Regions from separate parts of the Homo sapiens genome. Here regions 1, 2, 4, 5, 6 and 7 are each linked to region 3. The links are contacts of gene promoters, found by promoter capture Hi-C in blood cells and fetal thymus (Javierre and others, 2016). All regions are on one chromosome and are shown on one strand. Each heading gives the region's core, a stretch centred on a gene start or on the middle of the fragment in contact. The rest is flanking DNA. Distances are from core to core; before and after follow the strand shown. Region 1 holds the start of NPC1L1 (NPC1 like intracellular cholesterol transporter 1). Region 2 overlaps DDX56 (DEAD-box helicase 56). Region 3 holds the start of AEBP1 (AE binding protein 1). Region 4 overlaps OGDH (oxoglutarate dehydrogenase). Region 5 overlaps NUDCD3 (NudC domain containing 3). Region 6 overlaps NPC1L1 (NPC1 like intracellular cholesterol transporter 1). Region 7 overlaps NUDCD3 (NudC domain containing 3).

Evidence for each region. The method cuts DNA at HindIII sites, captures the fragments that hold promoters and counts their contacts. A CHiCAGO score of 5 or more calls a contact.
Region 1: the fragment with the promoter of NPC1L1 here is called in contact with the fragment with the promoter of AEBP1 in region 3 in 8 of 17 cell types (M1 macrophages, M2 macrophages, M0 macrophages and 5 more); the score reaches 18.5 in M1 macrophages.
Region 2: a fragment that was not itself captured here is called in contact with the fragment with the promoter of AEBP1 in region 3 in 11 of 17 cell types (M1 macrophages, M0 macrophages, fetal thymus and 8 more); the score reaches 12.0 in M1 macrophages.
Region 4: a fragment that was not itself captured here is called in contact with the fragment with the promoter of AEBP1 in region 3 in 1 of 17 cell types (fetal thymus); the score reaches 6.4 in fetal thymus.
Region 5: a contact is called between a fragment that was not itself captured here and the fragment with the promoter of AEBP1 in region 3, in 1 of 17 cell types (M1 macrophages). The highest score is 5.1, in M1 macrophages.
Region 6: a fragment that was not itself captured here is called in contact with the fragment with the promoter of AEBP1 in region 3 in 2 of 17 cell types (M2 macrophages and M1 macrophages); the score reaches 10.1 in M2 macrophages.
Region 7: a fragment that was not itself captured here is called in contact with the fragment with the promoter of AEBP1 in region 3 in 9 of 17 cell types (M1 macrophages, fetal thymus, M2 macrophages and 6 more); the score reaches 8.4 in M1 macrophages.

The regions. Positions count from the first base shown.
Region 1 is chr7:44,540,035-44,542,734 of GRCh38, forward strand. NPC1L1 (NPC1 like intracellular cholesterol transporter 1) reads right to left here and starts at 1,296. Exons shown (of 19, transcript NM_001101648.2): 1 at 1,172-1,296; 2 at 1-308. The coding sequence starts at 1,225. RefSeq lists an enhancer at 1-589. The HindIII fragment of the contact is 6,836 bases long and covers 1-2,700 here.
Region 2 is chr7:44,565,595-44,568,302 of GRCh38, forward strand. It overlaps DDX56 (DEAD-box helicase 56), which reads right to left. Exons shown (of 14, transcript NM_019082.4): 12 at 2,524-2,629; 13 at 854-930; 14 at 210-485. The coding sequence ends at 408. Among named protein-coding and RNA genes, the nearest start is that of DDX56, 7.0 kb to the right of the region's middle. RefSeq lists a silencer at 5-216 and an enhancer at 70-569. The HindIII fragment of the contact is 3,764 bases long and covers 1-2,708 here.
Region 3 is chr7:44,103,066-44,105,976 of GRCh38, forward strand. It overlaps AEBP1 (AE binding protein 1), which reads left to right and starts at 1,280. Exons shown (of 21, transcript NM_001129.5): 1 at 1,280-1,853. The coding sequence starts at 1,601. The HindIII fragment of the contact is 6,426 bases long and covers 1-2,911 here.
Region 4 is chr7:44,609,550-44,612,381 of GRCh38, forward strand. All of the region lies in intron 1 of OGDH (oxoglutarate dehydrogenase), which reads left to right. Among named protein-coding and RNA genes, the nearest start is that of OGDH, 4.3 kb to the left of the region's middle. The HindIII fragment of the contact is 7,319 bases long and covers 1-2,832 here.
Region 5 is chr7:44,460,144-44,463,029 of GRCh38, forward strand. All of the region lies in intron 2 of NUDCD3 (NudC domain containing 3), which reads right to left. Among named protein-coding and RNA genes, the nearest start is that of NUDCD3, 29 kb to the right of the region's middle. The HindIII fragment of the contact is 6,752 bases long and covers 1-2,886 here.
Region 6 is chr7:44,515,978-44,518,677 of GRCh38, forward strand. NPC1L1 (NPC1 like intracellular cholesterol transporter 1) reads right to left here. Exons shown (of 19, transcript NM_001101648.2): 15 at 1,230-1,380; 16 at 726-957; 17 at 107-220. Among named protein-coding and RNA genes, the nearest start is that of NPC1L1, 24 kb to the right of the region's middle. The HindIII fragment of the contact is 7,058 bases long and covers 1-2,700 here.
Region 7 is chr7:44,477,859-44,480,558 of GRCh38, forward strand. All of the region lies in intron 2 of NUDCD3 (NudC domain containing 3), which reads right to left. Among named protein-coding and RNA genes, the nearest start is that of NUDCD3, 11 kb to the right of the region's middle. The HindIII fragment of the contact is 6,664 bases long and covers 1-2,700 here.

The DNA of each region.
Region 1 (2,700 bases), core at 46-2,545, 440 kb after region 3:
ACAAAATTGTCAGAGCAGGCTGGGCAGCGGGTGAGGAGGGCCTTGGTGATCGACAGACTCGCTTCCAGTGATACCAGCTGCTTGGCGGAGCAGCAGGCTTGGGTGTTGGGGCCGGTGTAGAGGCGGGGGCAGATCTTCTGTAATAGGATCAGGTGATCACCTGTGATCTTGCGGGCCGGCGTGTTGGACAGGCAGGACACGTTGGAGAGTGTCATGAGGCTTCCAGACAGCTCTGGGTTCTTCCCACATTCGTCATAGAAGGCGCAGTAGCCAGGCTGGTGGATGGTTGTGTAAGGCTCACTCTGGGCCTGCAGAGCACAGCAACATCACGCGTGGGCCCTGACACAGCTGGGTGCCATCCAGGCAGCAGGCAGCCAGGGAGGGTGTGAGGGTAAGAAGGACATGGAGCAGGGGCAGGGAAGCGGGGAGTGTGGGGAGTAGGAAGCCTCCTGGAGGCATGTGCCAGCCAGCCAGTGTTGGAGTGACAACACTGGCCTTTCTTCCTGGGGGTGGCCTGATAGACCTGCAGCTTAGGAAAGTCATGCTGGAGAGGCCAGAGATGGGTAAGGAGGCAAAGCTGACTCCAAGGTCCCGGGCTCTGCCCACGTCAAAGTCAGCCTGAGTCCCCACACTGTACACCACATCCAGAGGCCAGGGTCTCTCATGGAGAGTCTGTTCAGGAGGCCCCCCGACTCCCACCACCACTACCACCACCTGCTTGAGGCCAAAAGCTGTCACCCACCTCCCAGACACAAAGTAAGCGAGGAACTTAAGAGGTGCCAGCGCTGGATCTTCTCCCAGCCTCCAGAGTGCTCAGTCCTCCCTAGGTGATGCTCACCAGGTAACCCCATCCCAGCACCTCCTTGCCTCAGACCTCCCTCAACTGCAGGCCTGGACCCCACAGTAGGGCCAGTGACAGGAGGGACTTGGAGCACCCCAGTCCAGCAGCCTCTTTCACCCCTGTGTGCATTCAAGCCTGTAACCTGGAAACCCTCCACCTGCACCCCTCCTCTGTGGGGCCTGGCATCCCTCATGTGTCCAGAGACTTGCCCAGCCCGCAGGCCCTGAGGCTCCCTTGCTGTCACCCAGTAACGCTCGCCTGGTACACGGCTGGCCCCAGGGTCCCTAACTGGAGGCCGCAGGGGAGGTGGAGCCAAGCCCTGGGACTCACCAAGCGCAGGAGCAGGGCCCACAGCAGCCAGCCCCTCAGGCCGGCCTCCGCCATCCCAGGTCTGGGAAGGGGTCAGCGGGGAGCCAGGCCAGGCCTCAGGAACAGCCAAGGGCTGAACACACATTAAGGCAGCCTCCTCCCCTTCGATGACAACCCTGGCCTGACTGGGTTAGGGACCAATGAGGCTGAGCCCTGCTGGTTAATGATCCACCACTCCCACTGTTTGGCCCCAGTCCACAGGCCCCCGCTTTAGATGAGCCTCATCACGCAGGTGCTAGGGTCTCCACTCACTTCCCAAAGCGACCGAAGCCAGAGGGCTGAGTCAGCTAGGGGAGAGACCACGCTATTAGCCCCTAACACTGCTGGAGTTGGTGCCAGGGCCTGGAGGCACAGATGGGACCAGGCACTGGCTGGGACCCGGCCTCAGGAGCTCAGCATGGCCGAGGAACCTCCGCACCCTCCCTGGCTCAGCCTCAGACCCCAGCTCTGCCCTACCCCCTCTTGGGACCAGGGCCAGCAATGGGCTCAGAGGAACCCTCTGCACTGTCATCCCTAGCAACTGTTGTTAATTAATATTAACAGCCTGATAACGGAGGGGCAGGCAGGGTGGAGTGACGCAGTGACAAAAGTCCCCTCCTCCAGGAAGCAAAGGGAAAGAACAGCTCACTCTAGGGCCTGACAGTTGACAGAGACCCCAGATAGTGGAAGACTCTCCTTTGCTCACTTTGCTCTTCATCCCCTCTTCCCCCCGACCTTCTCCCTCTTGTCCCTTGCCCAGGCCTGTCCCACCGGTCACCCCTAGCAAGGGACAGAGCATGGCTGGGAGCCTTGAGCAGCAGCCCTGCTCCACCTGGGCCCAGGGGTGTGGTACACACTTTCTGCTCCCTCCTGATAGGAATCTTCAAGGCCTACCTTGGGTTCTCACTATCACCAGGATGGGCCATGACCTTTACCCCCATTTGGTAATGGGCCCCCATTACCAAAGCTGAGCTGCAGATAAGGGCAGCTTGTTGGGAACATCTCCTGCGTGGCCACCTACTGGAGACAGCTGCAGGAAGGGACCTGTCTCTAGTGTTCTGTGGACCCCTGCCTGATTCACAGGGGAGCCACCCAGCCTCATGCAGGAGAAGACAGAGGCTGAGAGGAAGGGGGCCAAGGCAGGGTCAGGCTGACCCCTAAGTTCTCAAGACAGCCATAGTGGAGAGGAAGACAGTCAGCAGCCAAGGACCTGCCCCTGTGAGTGACAGCTCCATCCAGCACCTTCCCAGCACTGCTCCCAAGTCCCTGGCCGGCAGAGGCGGACACCCCACCACCCATGAAGCTGCCTCTCTAGGTCCTCTGTTCCCGGTGTTGTCATCTAGTTCCTCCAGAAACAGATCCTGAAACAAGGATCCCAGTGCAAAGAGTTTATTGGGGAGATGACCCCAGATGACAGCAGTCGGTGAATGGGGAATGAGCCAGGGGATGGAAGAAAGCTGACCAGAATGCATCCAAGAGCTTGCTCCTGCCCCCAGGGACCTCCGGGAACT
Region 2 (2,708 bases), core at 181-2,680, 460 kb after region 3:
CAGGAAGGCTCTGGGCCGGCCATAGCCACCTGCCAGCAAGGGCAGGCTTCTCTTCTCATGGCTGGGGCAGCTCGGCACAGCTGACCTCTGCTGGCCAAGTGAAGCACTGCATGCAGCCACAGAGCCAGGCACAGCTGTCTTCCGAAGTTTCCCGACTCCTGATGTTTTGGGGATTCAAATAGTCCTTTTCATATGCTGGAGGCACAAACTGGGGCAGCTAAAATTTTTATTCTGTTGTCAAGGGGCAAGATGCCAGCTTGGAAGTGCCAAGGAGCTAAAGGGCCCAGCACTGCCGGCCCCAGAACTGTCTGTTCAGGCTGTGCAGTAAGCACCAGAGCCTCGCCTGTCCACGAAGGGTGTAAGCCTGTGCTCCACAATGTGCTCAGCTCCAGAGAGGCCCAACAACCTCAGGAGGGCTTGGCTGTGGGTCTGAATTTCTTTCCTTTGTGCTTGAAGCTGCGCAGTGGGTTCTGGGACTTTGCTCTCTAAGGAGGCAAAGTCACAGGTTAGTTGGGGGAATCAGGCCGACAGACAATCCACCCACCCACCCACCCAACTGAGAAAGACACAAAGGGAGCCGTGCCGGCAACTGGCCAACACGACCAGAAGGTGCTGCAGATAAGGAAATGGGGAAAGGCAGCTGGGGAAAGAAAAGCAGGGCCTGCAGGCGGCTGCAAAAGTACCCCTATCCCACACCAGATTTTTGGGGCCCGGTTCTAGGGTGCCCCCTCTTCCCCTCCCTAGGGCACCCTCTCTTCCCCTCCCTAGGGCAAGGCGCCTCCACATTCTGGTGATGACAAAAGAGCAGGTTGGGAGGAGTCCTGGGGCTGTCCGCAGTCCCCAGGAGCCGTACCTTGGCCTTCCTACAAGAGGAAGACAGCTTCTTCCGCTTCTTGTGAGGGCGCACCAGGCCACGGAGAGCAGGAGGAACTGGAAGAGATGCTTGCCTGAGCAGTGGGCTCACCGCTACTGCTCCCATCCCTGCCCTCCCGCTGATTCTGCAGCAAATTCTCCAATTCTGACCCAACTGGCAGCCTATGACATACATCTATTCACTACCACATCTGCACAGGGCCAGGAGAATGTGAGCACCTTAGACTTCCACTATTTAAATCACTCTCCTATATTGTTTAGATTTGTTACAACAAACATGTAACAAGAAAGAAAAAGACAGACATCCTTAAAGAAAGAAAATGCAGCTGAAATAAAAGTCAACAGGTAGTTTCTTCACCTGTGGCCCATTACTACCGATACAGGGGGCCCCGCATCCCAGCTGCACCTGATCTTGGCTCTATCTTCACCTCGCCCACCCCATGGACTCCCCCAGGCCAACCACACCTGGGCCCTCCCCTTCAAATGTCAAACATCCCACATCCTGACACCTTTCCACCTTCTCCTGGCCCTTCTAAACCTCCTGGCCACACCTTGGCAAATGACTCCGCTATACGAGCAGACTGGGTTCCTGAGGCCAAAGTTCTAGCCTTACCTTCTCCCTCCCTACCCACCCTCCCAACTCCCCTCCTCACATCTCAGGCCAGGACCTGGACTGGGGTCTCCTCCAGCTCACTGTCCCATGGGAACCCGGCCCCCACCGCTCTCTCTGGCATTTTCATGTTCCCATCTCTTCTGGATCCTTCCTTTCCCAGTGCCCAGGCTTTTCCTGCCCTGGAACATTCCATCTCCACCCTTTGTCACCTCCATAGCAGCAACACCACACCCGCTGGGTGGCTGCAGGTCCAGGCTGAGCAGACCCTGTGGCATTGGGAAGGGTCCTGCACTTGCTGCCCACAGCCTCCTCTCCACCACTCTCCTCCTTCAATCCATTTTAGGCATAAAAGTCACACATACTCATTACCAAAAACACCTCCTATGAGACACTGAAAGAAGTCATTACCCAGAGCCTGCCAAAGATGAGGAGAGGTGCCCAGTATTAATGGCCACATAAAGCTCTAGCCTGGGCTGCACTACAGAAACCAATCCCAGGGTCCTGACCTCATGCCTGCCAACCCCTGCATCCCTCGCACCACCACTGGCTCTTCTCTTGCTACCTTGTCGGTTTAGGCCTTACAGAGTCTGTCTCCCTGCTGACTGTTCTTACCCAGAGACTCCACAGATGCCTCTTCAGCAGCTGCTAATCTTGAGTCTTTTGCAGCACAGGTGGCTCTCTCTGCCTCCTGCCCGTGACTCTCTCCCAAACCTGTTCACTCCCTTCGACCCATGGATGGCCATTTGGCCCAGCTCTGGAGACGACCTGGCCTGAAATGCTGGGTCTGCCACCCACCCTGCACTACCTCAATTTCCTCATCTCTAAAATGGAGACAGCAACAGCTAACCCGTGGGACCAAGCAAACAAGTTTAGAAACACAGGGGTGTGCCTGTTTACATGCCCGCGTGCTGCCAGGGTCTCCAGGTTCTATTCTGCCTGAGCATCCCCAGCACCAAGCACAGGGGCTGACCCAGCAGTGGAGAAATTAATGCCACTTCCCCAGCCTGCTGCCTCCTGCCCTGTCAGGCCACACTCACCCAGGTAGTCAGGAACATGGCCCAGGTGGGGCTTCACCACTGCGGGGTGCAAAGGTAGGTCATGCCGCAGCAGCTGGAGGTCCCTAGGGTTGTCTTCAAAGTATGTCTGCCGGGGGAAGAGGGAGAGCCACAGAGTGAGCATCTTTCTTCTGTGACTTCACAGACCTAGCTTTTCAAAGGATAAC
Region 3 (2,911 bases), core at 30-2,529:
GGGGACCCAGGTGCTTCCTGACCCACTTTTCCTCTTTCCTTTTGACCCCAGGTCCAAACTCTGCCCTGTCAATCATCCCAGGGGCTCCTAGGCTTCCCTACCTGACTACTTCACTGGGGCCAAACCCCGCAGACAATCGTGGCTTAGGGCTGTCTGCCTCTGCACTTGGCCCATGGACTACCTGTGAGCTTTCTCTTGTGTCCTCATTCCTTTAAGGGGGAATGTCCTCGGAGCTCTGTCCTTAGCTCCCCATTCCTCCAGTATGAGACAGGGACTAGGCTTGAGTCACGGGGGACTGTGCTGTGTCACGCCCTGCCATACTAATGGGACCACTCTGCCTGTTGATGGCCGTTGTAGGGCAGCCAACATTTGCCCTGGAGAAGCCTTATGGCAAACACCAGGCACCAAGGTGCACATCCCTGATGGATCCTGGGATCAGTTGACACTCAATCCACCTGCCTTCTGGGTCCTCTGGGCCCTCTGGGTCCATGTGGCAGCTGGAGGTATGGTAGACACTTTTTAAAAAATGAGTTCTGGTAAGAAGAAGGTGATAAATGGCTATTTGTCCACGTTGGGACCCGGAGGGGAGGGATGGCATGCCCTTACATGGGACTCCTACCCCCAGCGGGGCAGCTGGCCACTCTGAGGGCAGTTTTGCACCTGCCTCCTGGCTGGAAAGTGAGTTCCCACTGTGCTGTCCCTCCCTGGGGCCCAGCACGGGGCCCGGCCCCACACCGACCTGAAGAGGTTGGTAGGATGACTGAATGAATTGACGCTGGGATGCAGCAGGGCCCATGGGCAGAGGCTCCAGAGCCTGGGAAGGATGGGGTGGCCTTTCTGTGGCCCTCCGAATTGAGAGAGGTCTCAGAGGCCTGACACCACGGCTTTCCGTCCAGGGTTCCTGGTCACCCGCGGAGGGCTCAGAGCCCCGGTGGACTCGGGGTCCCGCCTTAAGGGGGGTGCCTAGGGCAGAAGGAGGAGGGATGTCGGCCCCCTCAGACCCGCACCCCAGGCCCTCCCCACCACCTTTCCTTCCCTCAGGCCCTCTGTCTTCCCAGTCGCCCCGCCCCCTGCCCCTCTGTCCTAGGCGCAAGTCTCCGGGCTTGGGACGCTCGCCGCCAGCGCCCGCCCGCCTGCCCCGCCCCTAGCCCCCCGCCCCCCGCCCCCCGCCCCCCCGCAGCCCCTCCGTCCACTCTCGGCTCCTCCTTCTCTTCCTCCTCCTCCTCCCCGGGGGTGGGGAGCCGGCTCCGGAAGCCCCGGCGCCCCCGCCCCGGGCCCCGCCAGCGCTTTGGAGACGGCTATCCGCGCGGGAGTGCGCCACGCGGGGCCGGAGCGCCTATTAGCCGCCAGGACCTCGGAGCGCCCCGACCACCCCTGAGCCCCTCTGGCTTCGGAGCCCCCCAGCACCCCTTCCCGGGTCCCCTCGCCCACCCTAATCCACTCTCCCTCCCTTTCCCGGATTCCCTCGCTCACCCCATCCTCTCTCCCGCCCCTTCCTGGATTCCCTCACCCGTCTCGATCCCCTCTCCGCCCTTTCCCAGAGACCCAGAGCCCCTGACCCCCCGCGCCCTCCCCGGAGCCCCCCGCGCGTGCCGCGGCCATGGCGGCCGTGCGCGGGGCGCCCCTGCTCAGCTGCCTCCTGGCGTTGCTGGCCCTGTGCCCTGGAGGGCGCCCGCAGACGGTGCTGACCGACGACGAGATCGAGGAGTTCCTCGAGGGCTTCCTGTCAGAGCTAGAACCTGAGCCCCGGGAGGACGACGTGGAGGCCCCGCCGCCTCCCGAGCCCACCCCGCGGGTCCGAAAAGCCCAGGCGGGGGGCAAGCCAGGGAAGCGGCCAGGGACGGCCGCAGAAGGTAAGAGCCCAGGGCAGGGCGGGGGTGTGGGGGGCTGGCATCTCAGGTGGGAACAGGGGGATTCGGTAGGGTCTGGCCACTCCCCAGTCTGCTAGGGGAGGAATGGCTGGCTTACTAATGCGCACGCGAGCCCAGATGCCTGGAGGGACCCTGTGCTAGGCCGAGGTCAGCGCTGGCGTGGAGGCACATCCAGCACCCGGGCGGCAGGGCCGCTTTTGGGGGCCGGTGGCTCTAGGGTTGGTGCTGTGGTTGTACGGGTCGCTTATCCCCATTCCTCCAGTACGCGACAGGTACTAGGCTTGAGCCACAGGGGACTGTGCTGTGTCACCCCCTGCCATACTAATGGGACCACTCTCCCTGTTGGTGGCACAGCTTCACGTCGTCCCTCCCTCCTGCCTTTGCCCTCCTACTCCAGGAGGTCTCACGTAGGTGAGAGAGTTTCAGGTGGTGGTGAGCACAGGGCTTCAGGTGGTGGTGAGCAATGGGTGGTCCTACATTAGTACAGGAAATTAGATGAGGTGATGCATCACTGAAGCATTTAACCCACGGCCTCTTGCATAATCAGTTGTCAGTAAATCTTAGCTGTTTTCATCGTGGCCCTCTGGAAGGTGGCAGAGGGTCTTGTGATCCCTGTCTCCCAGGAGATTCCAAGGCACCATCCAACATTCCTGATGTCAGCAGCCCCTCCCCTGCCACCCCAGCTCTAGATCTTTCCTGGCTGCTTCCCACACCCTGGGCTGCCTGTGCCCCTCCTGCCTCTGGCTCTCCTTCCAGGCTTGCTCTCCTGGCTCTGGGGCACCGCTCTAGCAGCCCTGCGTCCCCTGGCTGTCTGCATTTGGTAGCTTTCCTGTGTTTCTGCCAAACTTCCCTCATGCTCCCCACCTCTCATCAGGTTCTCAACAGCACTTGCAGCTCCTGCTTAGGGTCCTGGGAGGATTCCCATGGGGAATCCTCACAACCAGTCCCTGCTCCCTCTCCCAGACTCTGAAATGAGTGTGCAGCCACAAGCTCCCTACCTGTCTTTTCTGTCCTCTGTGTGATCCCTGAACCCCCCAGGA
Region 4 (2,832 bases), core at 134-2,633, 510 kb after region 3:
AGCCGGGCTATTGGGCTATGGATGTACCACATTTGGTTTATTCATCCATTAAAAGACATCTTTACTGTTTCCATTCTTTGGCTATTACAAATAAAGCTGCTACAAACCTTCATGTACAGATTTTTATTTGAACATAAATTGACATTTCTCCAAGATAAATGCCCAGGAATACAATCACTAAGTCGTAGTGCGTGCTTAGTTATTAAACAAATAGCCAAACTGTTTTCCAGAGTGATTGTACTATTTTACATTCCCACCGGCACTGTATGGTCTTGTTTCTCCACATACTTGCCAGCATTTGGTGATGTTACTTTTTTTATTATAGCCATTCCAATAAATGTGTAGTAATGTCTCTTTGTGGTTGTAATTTGCATTTTTCTGATGGCTAATGATGTTGAACATCTTTTCATGTGCTTATTTGCCATCTGTCTATTCTCTCTTTTTTTGGAAGAGATGGGATCTTGCTATGTTGCCCAGGCTGGTCTTGAACTCCTGGGATCAAGTGATCCTCCTGTCTTAGCCTCCCAAAGGCTAGGATTTCAGGCATGAGCCACCATGCCTGGCCCCTGTATACTCTCGGGTGAAATGTCTGTTCATATCTTTTGTTCATTTCGTAATTAGATTGTTCGGTTTTTGTTAACTGTTGAGCTTTGAGAATTCCTAATGTATTCTAGATACCACTGCTTTGTTGGATATGTAGTTTGCAGATATTTTCTCCTAGTCAGCAGCATGTCTTTTCATCTTGGTTTTTTTTTTGTTTGTTTGTTTGTTTTGTTTTTGAGATGGAGTCTCGTTCTGTCCCCCAGGCTGGAGTGCAGTGGCGTAATCTCTACAACCTCTGCCTCCCAGGTTCAAGCGATTCTTCCGCCTCAGCCTCCTGAGTAGCTGGGATTACAGGCGCTTGCCACCACACCTGGCTAATTTTTGTATTTTTAGTAGAGACGGGGTTTCACCGTGTTGGTCAGGCTGGTCTCGAACTCCTGACCTCGCGATCTGTCCACCTCAGCCTCCCAGAGTGCTGGGATTACAGGCGTGAGCCACTGCTCCTAGCCCTTTTCATCTTTTTGTTTGTTTGTTTGTTTGAGACGGAGTCTTGCTCTGTTGCCCAGGCTGGAGTGCAGTGGTGCAATCTTGGCTCACTGCAACCTCCACCTCCCCGGTTCAAGCCTTTCTCAGCCTCCCAAGTAGCTGGGACTACAGCCGCGTGCCACCACGCCCGGCTAATTCTTTTGTATTTTTAGTAGAGACGGGCTTTTACTGTGTTAGCCAGGATGGTCTGGATCTCCTGACCTCGTGATCGACACCCCCTTGGCCTCCCAAAGTGCTGGGATTACAGGCGTGAGCCACCGCGCTCAGCCCCTTTTCATCTTCTTAACGGGGTCTTTTGCAAAGCAAAAGTTTATAATTTTGATGAGGTCTGGTTTACCAATTTTATCTTTTGTTAGATTGCTTTTGGTGTTGAGTTGAAGAACTCTTTGCCTAGCCCAAATTCCTGAAGATTTTATCATATGTATTTTTCTAAATTTTTTTTTTTTTTTTTTTGGAGACACGGTCTTACTCTGTCACCCCAGGCTGGAGTGCAGTGGCATGATCACAGCTCACCGCAGCCTCAACCTCCTGGGCTCAGGTGATCCGGTGATCCTCACACCTCAGCCTCCTGAGTAGCTAAGAGTACCGGAGTCTGCACCATGCCTGGCTAATTTTTGTATTTTTTGTTTTTTGGTTTTTTGAGACGGAGTCTCGCTCTGTCGCCCAGGCTGGAGTGCTGGAGTGCAGTGGCACGATCTCAGCTCACTGCAACCTCCGCCTTCCGGGTTCATGCCATTCTCCCACCTCAGCCTCCTGAGTAGCTGGGACTACAGGTGCCCGCCACCATGCCCGGCTAATTTTTTTTTTTTGTATTTTTTAGTAGAGACGGGGTTTCACTGTGTTACCCAGGATGGTCTCGATCTCCTGACCTCGTGATCCCCCCCGCCTCGGCCTCCCAAAGTGCTGGGATTACAGGCGTGAGCCACCGTGCCTGGCCTAATTTTTGTATTTTTTGTAGGGACGGGTTTTGCCATGTTGCCCAGACTGGTCTCAAACTCCTGGGGTCAAGCAATCCTCCCACCTTGGCTTCCTGAAGTGCCAGGATTACAGGCGTGAGCCACTGCGCCTGGCCACTTTTATAAAATTTTTAAATTTTACATTTAAATCTATGATTCATTTAGACTTAATTTCTTTTTTCTTTTTTTTTTTATGTTTTCACTTTATGGTACTTTTTGATGAACAGTTTTTAATTTTAATGTAATTGATATAAATTTAGTCTTGTGGCCAGCTTTTTTTGAGTCCTAAAGACTCAAGATCAAATAGATATTCTAAAAGTTTTAATGTTTTTTTTTATTATTATGCTTTAAGTTCTGGGGTACATGTGCACAACATGCAGGTTTGTTACATATGTATACATGTGCCATGTTGGTGTGCTGCACCCATTAACTCGTCATTTACATTAGGTATATCCATTTGGAGTTAATTTCTGTATGTGGTTTAAAGTTTGAGTGTTTTTTGGTTTTTGTGGGGGGTTTTTGCTTATGAATATCTAACCAGCACCGTTTGTTTGAGAAGACTGTTTTTCTTCCATTGAATTGCTTTTGCACTTTCGTCAGAAATCACTTGGCTGTACTTGTGTGACTCTGTTTCTGATTCTCTGTTGCATTCCATTGATCTTTGTGTCTATCCCATCACCAATACCGAGAGTTTTTATTATTGTAGCTCATAAGAAGTCTCAAAATCGGATAGATTGATTTCTCTCACTTCTTTTTCAAAATTGTTTCAGCTAATCTAGTTCTTTTG
Region 5 (2,886 bases), core at 2-2,501, 360 kb after region 3:
CAGTGAATCAACTGATAGAAGAAAAGCAGTGAATAAGAAAATGTGAGGATTTGTAAAACTACAGAAGGATAATATCCAGACTCCCATCAATGAGTAAGTGGAGTTAATGAGTTAACAAAGTAGGAAATAACAACAGTAAATCACTGTGTAGAAAATGTAATCTTTCTATAAATAAAGAAATGCAAAGTAAACTATAAGCTATCATCATAACTGTTTAACTAAAATTTTAAAACATATTTCTTACCTGGTATGACTAAGTACGGCCTGCCCTAGGAAGGAAAGCATATAAGGCCATTATGAACATGCTCTACTGCATTAGCAGGAAGTGGGCAGCTACCACAAGACTCCAAATAGTATGCCAGACTCTACCACGTGCCCTTTTTAAAAACCCACCAGCATATATAATACTTACCAACACCAAAACTAGACTAACCAAGAAAAAAAAAATTTACCACTGACTACATCTGGGGTTTTAAGCCACCTGAGGTTCTAAACCTATTTATGTCACTATTTCCCCCTCAAAAAAATAAACAGCTATCTCAAAAACGTAATATGAAGATATGAATGAAATTAAGATGAAAAGGATAGGATGCTTTAATTTGGGGGGAAAGAAAGAGAAAACAAAAGTTTAAACCCTGGATCCAGTACTAACTCTAACCTATACTAAATTTCACAAATACTATAAAACATTACTCCAAATGAATTAACTCTACACTAGTCAACACTTGGCAAAAACGCTTTTTTGCAAAATCTGCATTAAAGGATTTTAGTTTTCCTCCATTGGAAAATCTTTCATTATTTTTAAAAATGTATTTGAACGGTGTGATAATTCTTTTCTCCTACCACATATCCTAGGTAGTCCTAGACAACAGGCCTAAAAACCCGACGGGTTCAACTCTGCTTATCTCAAAACGCTCCTTCAAGACTATACCCCTCCCAAGGGGATTCTCTGGACACAACTCAAATGCTTTCTTCTATCTCCTTGCCTTCCAGGAATCCCTTCCTCCCTTCTCCTGGCTTCTTCGGCCCTGCACCCATGAAGGCCAGCACAGGCATCACCTTCTCCAGGAAGTATTTCTGACATTCCAGAAAATGGGTCTGGACCCTTCCTCTGCATTCATCACATGGGATTGCAACAGTTTGTCCAAGCTCCCCCTAAACTGTGAGCCCCTTGAGCATCTCCCACTCTATATGTCTGACTGCTAGAACAGAGCCTGAAACATCATAGAAGGTATGCCACATATACATGGGATGGGAGGATAGAAGGGCAAGCTGCATATGAAGAGAAGTCTTCTCTTAAAATCAGTGTGATCTGCAACAGGAAAAGGCTGTCTCCCTGTGGGGGGAGGCACACTCATAAAGACTAAATCATTTCCTGCCTGTTAGGGATGCTATGGGAAGGACAGAAAAGCTACCATGATTGAGTCAGCCGCAGACACATGGTACAATCTGACCTATACCATTGAAAGTGAAGGAGCCTTTGAAGAAGCACCAAAGAGAGAGAGAAAGGAGTCTTTCACCAGCCATGTGACATGCAGAATGGCCACACCTCAGCCATAATGGTTGAAAGGGGGAGGAAACAAAGAAACAGAAAGTTTGGGATCCGGGCCCTAACCCAGACTGTGTGAAAGCTCATTTTCTCAAATGCCAGAAATGCTTCCTAGAGAAGGTGGTGCCTGTGCTGGCCTTCATGGGTGCAGGGCCACAGAAGCCAAGGAGAAGGGAGGAAGGGGTCCTGGAAGGCAAGGAGGTGGACCGTGTAAAAGCTGTCCACAGTTGGGATGGACACAGTTGGGATGGGACAGTGTTCAAGTGCCTGGCTCCGTGGTAAATAAAATCAGGGCTCACATGATTCAGGTGCATAGGCAGGTGGTCCCTGAACCCAGGTAGTCTCCCCAAGAGATGTTCTGAGGCAGTCCACAAATATAGCACATGCAAAGCATATTATCAAACTCAGAGGACTTCCACTGCTCTGAGATAGGAATTATCAGGGACATGTACACACACACTCTCTCTCTCTCTCTCATATATACACACATACAGAAAGAGAAAAAGAAATGCGTATTACCTCTCTATCTTTAAGAATATTTAAGGTAACTTTAGTCAAGGAGCTGGGTACATTTTGCTTACAAACAACATTTCATGAATTGCTATGAAATTTTATAGAAGCCTAATTTCCAGGGCTCGAGTTACAGTTACTGAACAAATGTAACCATAATGTGTGCCACTAGCATCTCAACCACATAATTACCCAGAAAAAATTAACAGATACATAACTTATACTCTAAAATCCCCTAATGACCACATGTTCAGAAAATGTTCCTAAATAGGAAAACACTGACCAATATTATTAGCTTAACTTTTCAGGGAATAAAGACATCATAAAGCAGATTATTCCAACTTTTCAAATATGAATGAAAACAGAAAACTCCTACTTGATCAGCAGCTCTCAAAGGGAGGGTAGGCCCTGCCTCCTGGGAGTTTGGGAGTGTGTGGGCAGCGTTAGGTGTCCTTGGGGCAGTCAATGGGCACTGTCCCCTGCCCTGCATTACCTTCACACATCCCATTAGACATGCAGGTAGACAGAAGCTGTTTAACATTCTTCTGAGCCTGTAACCTAACTCAATTTTAGATAAAAACCCAAATAATTTTTTGCATGCTTTTATTATATCATGAATTTTCCAGGAATACAACATGTCTGATTCTGGCCTTTACTAAAATGTAATTGCCTTTTTGAAAATACTCATCACCAAAGCAACACTGCCTGTGTATTCTGGGTTACCAATCAAGACACAACCAGGCTGTGTGTGTGTGTGTGTGTGTGTGTGTGTGTGTGTGTGTGTGTGTATACACAAAGATACAAAAGATTTATAGTATCTTTTGCAT
Region 6 (2,700 bases), core at 103-2,602, 410 kb after region 3:
GAGCCAGGTGTCAGGCAGGGCACAGGGCATCAGGCAGGGCACAGGGCATCAGGCAGGGCACAGGGTGTCGAGTGGGGCACAGGGTGGCCCACTCCTCTCCACTCACCGCACTTCCCATAGAGATGGTGGCCTCTTTGGCCCTCTCCAGCCAGGTGGGCTTGGTGCTGATGGCAAAGGAGCGGGTAATGTGGGACACAAACTCCACAGACATGCCCACCGCCTATGGGCAGAGAGGGGGCATAAGCCAAGAAAGGCAGAGGTGGGGAAGGAACTAGGGAGATGAGGCCTCCACCAGGACCAGCGTGGGGCAGGCATCTAGATTCTAGACAGAACTGGGAGTATTTGGCCGGGTGCAGTGGCTCATGCCTATAATCCCAACACTTTGGGAGGCCGAGGTGAGAGGATCACTTGAGCCCAGGAGTTTGAGACCAGCCTGGGCAACAAAGTGAGACCCTGTCTCTACAACAAAAATTAAAATATTAGCTGGACGCAGTGGCACGTGCCTGTAGTCCTGGCTACTTTGGAGGCTGAGGTAGGAGGATCGCTTGAGCCCAAGGGTTCGAGGCTACAGTGAGCTGTGATCATGTCACTGCCCTCAAGCCTGAGCAACAGAGCAAGACCCTGCCTCTAAAAAAAGAAACAAAAAAGAACTAGGAGTATTCTATGAGGCTGGATCCCCAACCACCCCTCCAGAGGCCCCCTGGTGCCTGTGTCTGCTGGGTTACCGAGACCAGGTTGATGAGGGACACAGCATTGTAACTGATGCCCCACAGGGCCATGAAGCCGACAGTGTCCACGAGGATCATGACAATGGAGAGCAGGTTGAGGAGGCCGGAGCGCAGGTCCAGGCCCAGCAGGAGGCAGGAGACAGCGAAGGTGGGCACAAGGCAGAGGCTGAGCATGAAGAGCCCCTCAGGGAGGATGGTCAGGTACTGCTCATAAAACACATTGGTGATCCTGCCAGAGCACAGAGCATGGTCACAGGCTCAGGCCTCTGGGGCCCTCATGGTGGGTGGGACACCCCACTTCAGAAGGAGAATGCTGAGGGTCAGGCAGGCTTATATTGGGGTACAAACCAGCCTAAGAAATAGGCCCAAGGCTGCAGCCAGAGCCTCCTGACCTAAAACTGGTCCTCATCTCATGCAACTCCTTGCAAGCCCTCCACCCTAACCTCCAGTCTCCAGCAACCATACCCCACCTCCCTCCAGCCCAGCCACTCAGGTCCTCACGTGTAGGGGAAGACCTCAAAAGCCGGGTCTGTTCCAGGCACTTTCCGCAGGTCAGCAGTGATGTTGGCTGCCAGCTCTCGAGCTGCCCGCAGAGCTTCTGTGTAATCCTGTGAGTTTTTCAGGGGCTTGTGATAGGCCATGAACCTGGAGGCTGGACAGCCATGGCACACAGAAGATGGAAGGGCAAAGGTCAGAGCCCTTTCCAGGACAACTTCAGAACACCGCAGACGCAGTGGCACAGGCATGTGATCAAGCGGGGTTCAGGGCTCTGCCACCACCATTTGAAATTCTTAGTAAATTTTGTGCAAGAGGCCCATATTTTTGTTTTGCACCAGCCCTGCAAACTCCATAGCTGGCCCCACTGCTGTGGGAGACCCAGGCCTGACCTTTGATGAGTGAAGCCTACAGAGATCTCCCTAGTGAACCGAGATTCTTCTCTGTATGGTTTCAAGATATGCATTGGATTTTTAAAATTAACTTAATTGGTTTTTAATTTGCATATTCCTATAGGAAAGGACTAGAAAGGAAGACAGAAAAATGAGAACGGTTGGATTATTAGAGCTGTGGCTTAGGGCTCCTGCCAGATAAAGGTTATTTCTTAATGACTTTTAAGAAATTAAGGTTATTGGCCGGGTGTGGTGGCTCATGCCTGTAATCCCAGCACTTTGGAAGGCTAAGGCAGGTCGATCACCTGAGGTCAGGAGTTCAAGACCAGCCTGCCCAACATGGTGAAACCCTGTCTCTACTAAAAATGCAAAAATTAGCCAGGCGTGGTGGCACACCCCTGTAATCCCAGCTACTTGGGGGGCTGAGGCAGGAGAATTCTTGAACTCAGGAGGCAGAGGCTGCAGTGAGCTGAGATCATGCTACTGCACTCCAGCTGGGCAACAGAGCAAGATCCCATCTCAAAAAAAAAAAAGAAGAAATTAAGGTTATTAAGACCTTTATACAATAAAGGGTTTTTTGTTCTTGTTTTTGTTTTCGAGACAGAGTCTCACTGTCACCGCAGCTGGAGTGCAGTGGTGCGATCTTGGCTCACTGCAACTTCTGCTTCCCGGGTTCAAGTGATTGTCCTGCCTCAGCCTCCCAAGTAGCTGGGATTACAGGTGCATGCCACCATGCCTGGCTAATTTTTGTATTTTTAGTAGAGACAGGGTTTCACCATGTTGGCCAGGCTGGTCTCAAACTCCTGACCTCAAGTGATTCGCCGGCCTCGGTCTCCCAAACTGCTGGGATTACAGGTGTGAGCCACCGCACCTGGCCCAAAAAGGTTGTTTCTTGGCGACACTCTGCCTCTATTAATAATACAAAAATTAGCTGAGCATAGTGGCATGTGCCTGTAATCCCAGCTACTAGGGAGGCTGAGGCAGGAGAATTACTTGAATCCAGGAGGTAGAGGTTGCAGTGAGCCGAGATTGTGCCACTGTACTCCAGCCTGGGTGACAGAATGGCAACTGTGTCTCAAAAAAAA
Region 7 (2,700 bases), core at 148-2,647, 370 kb after region 3:
CGCTCTGCTCTGTCGCCCAGGCTGGAGTGCAGTGGCACAATCTCAACTCACTGCAACCTCCACCTCCCGGGTTCATGCAATTCTGCTGCCTCAGCCTCCTGTGTAGCTGAGATTACAGGCACGCACCACCACACCTGGTTAATTTTTTGTATTTTTATAGAGACAGAGTTTCACCATGTTGGTGAGGCTTGTCTCAAACTCCTGACTTCAAATGATCAGCCGGCCTCGGCCTCTAACAGTGCTGAGATTACAGGCATGAGCCACCACACCCAGCCTGAACAACTATTAAAATTGTAAAGCATCCTTACAGAATATAAGCACATTCTCTGATGCTATCTTGTGCAAATAGGGAAATATCTGTGTGCAAATTCTCTCTCTTCTCTGAGGAATAAGATGGGTTATTTACTTTGGGCCGGGCGCGGTGGCTCACGCCTGTAATTCCAGCACTTTGGGAGACCGAGATGGGTGGATCACCCAAGGTCAGGAGTTTCAGACCAGTATGGCCAACATGGTGAAACCCTGTCTCTACTAAAAAAATACAAAAATTAGCCAGGCATGGTGGCAGGCACCTGCACTCCCAGCTACTTGCAAGGCTAAGGCAGGAGAATCGCTTGAACCTGGGAGGTGGAAGTTGCAGTAAGCCGAGATCATGCCATTGCACTCCAGCCTGGGCAACAAGAGCAAAACTCCGTCTAAAAAAAGAAAAAGATAGGTTCCTTTAAGCCCTGGGGTGGGGGCATTTCTGATCTTCATTTGACATGCCCTGGCAGCAACAGTAGGGCAGAAACAAGAATGAAATTCAGACCAATTGTAGGTTATTAGTCAGGGAGATGCTAAAATCAGAGTGATGGTAAAATTAGGTCAAAATAAAATTTCCCCCAAATCACCCCAAAAATACTATAAATGAAACCTGTACATTATTATGTATAAATAACAATGTATGCTGCAACAGCTTTAGGGCAGAACACAGGCACAAGGTTGCCAGGATCTGGGAGTCTGGCACCAATGGAAATGTCATTGTATTAGTCCATTCTCATGCTGCTATAAGGACATACCCAAGATGGGGTAATTTATAAAGAAAAGAGGTTTAATTGACTCGCAGTTCAGCATGGCTGGGGAGGCCTCAGAAAACTTACAATCATGACAGAAGGGGAAGTAAACACATCCTTCTTCACATACCAGCAGGAAGACGTGCCAAGCAAAGCGGGAAAAGTCCCTTATAAAACCGTCTATGAGAACTCACTATCACGAGAACCACATGGATATAACTGCCCCCATGATTCACTGCCTCCCACCGGGTCCCTCCCATGACATGTGAGGATTATGGGAACTGCAATTCAAGATGAGATTTGGGTGGGGACACAGCCAAACCATACTGGTCATCTATCTTGACTGTGGTGGTTACAAGACTACATTTGTCCAAAGTCATAAACTGTATTCTAAAAGGAATGAATTGTATTGTTACATAAATTATACTTTACTAAAACACAAAACAATTGTCTGTATACAGTAATGAACACCTTACAACAAAAATGCATATATAGAGGCAGGAGGAGTACTTGAGCCCAGAAGTTCGAGTTCAGCCTGAAAAACACAGCAAGATCCTGTCTCTAAAAAAATAAAATTCAAAATACATATATACAAAATATAAATACATTATTTTTAATCTTGTTTCTTTCTTTCCCAGCACTTACACTGAATTTATTTAAATTAAATAAGCATGTGATGTGACTTTACTGTAGTATACAAAAAGGGAGTTTTTGCCTAATACTGGTTAGAACCGAAAAACATGTCAAGTAAGAGTCATCAGATATCAGCAATCTAAGACTTAGATTCTCAGATTTTAGACAGAGTGCTCACAAAAGATGGTGCTTCTGTGTGGTCTTCTACAGAATAACTACCTTAAATTACTCAATTAAAAGAACTGCAGATCTATAATTTATAGGATAAACCATCCTGAACACTGGTGGGAGGACTTGGGGTGCAGCTAAAGGTAGAACAAGGAAAAGGATGGTCTTTCACATTCTATTTTCAAATCTGCTAAAACACTACATTTCAGGTATAACTAGAGATCGGTGCCACAACTTCCTGTTTTGTTCAAGGAAAACAAGTAACTGAAGCTGAGAATGTTCCAGTCCTTGGAAAGGTTTGATTAGGATTCTTGCGGTACCAGTCTATTCTGAACAAAGAGCTACCAAGTAGAAAGGTTAGCTTTCCTGAAACATATCCAAGTCTTCACTCTATACTTATTTTTAAGGTAGAACTCACAAAACTAACTCTAATTCTAACCCAGAACAAAATTCACTGGTTCAAGAATTTTAAAATAGGGTCTCTACAAAACAACAAAGTAGCTATTCTAGTCTATTACTCAGAAATCAAAACCAATACCCTCCTTTCATTTTTTAGAGATCATAAAAGGAATACAAAAAAATTAATAAAACAAAATAAATGGTCATTACAGAAAAATTAGAAAATATAGTAAGGGACAAAGATAAAAATGAAGAACACTCACAATTCCACCACTCTGTGATTACTACTACTATTTTCTTCCAGCTTTTTTTCTACATACATAATTTTTAAAGTTTTCAAATTTGATATTAGACTATATAGTTTGAATTCTCCCCTTCTCACTTAACATTATATCATGAAAATATCTGTATAAGTCAAGGTTCCACCAAAGAAACAGAAGCAGCAGATATA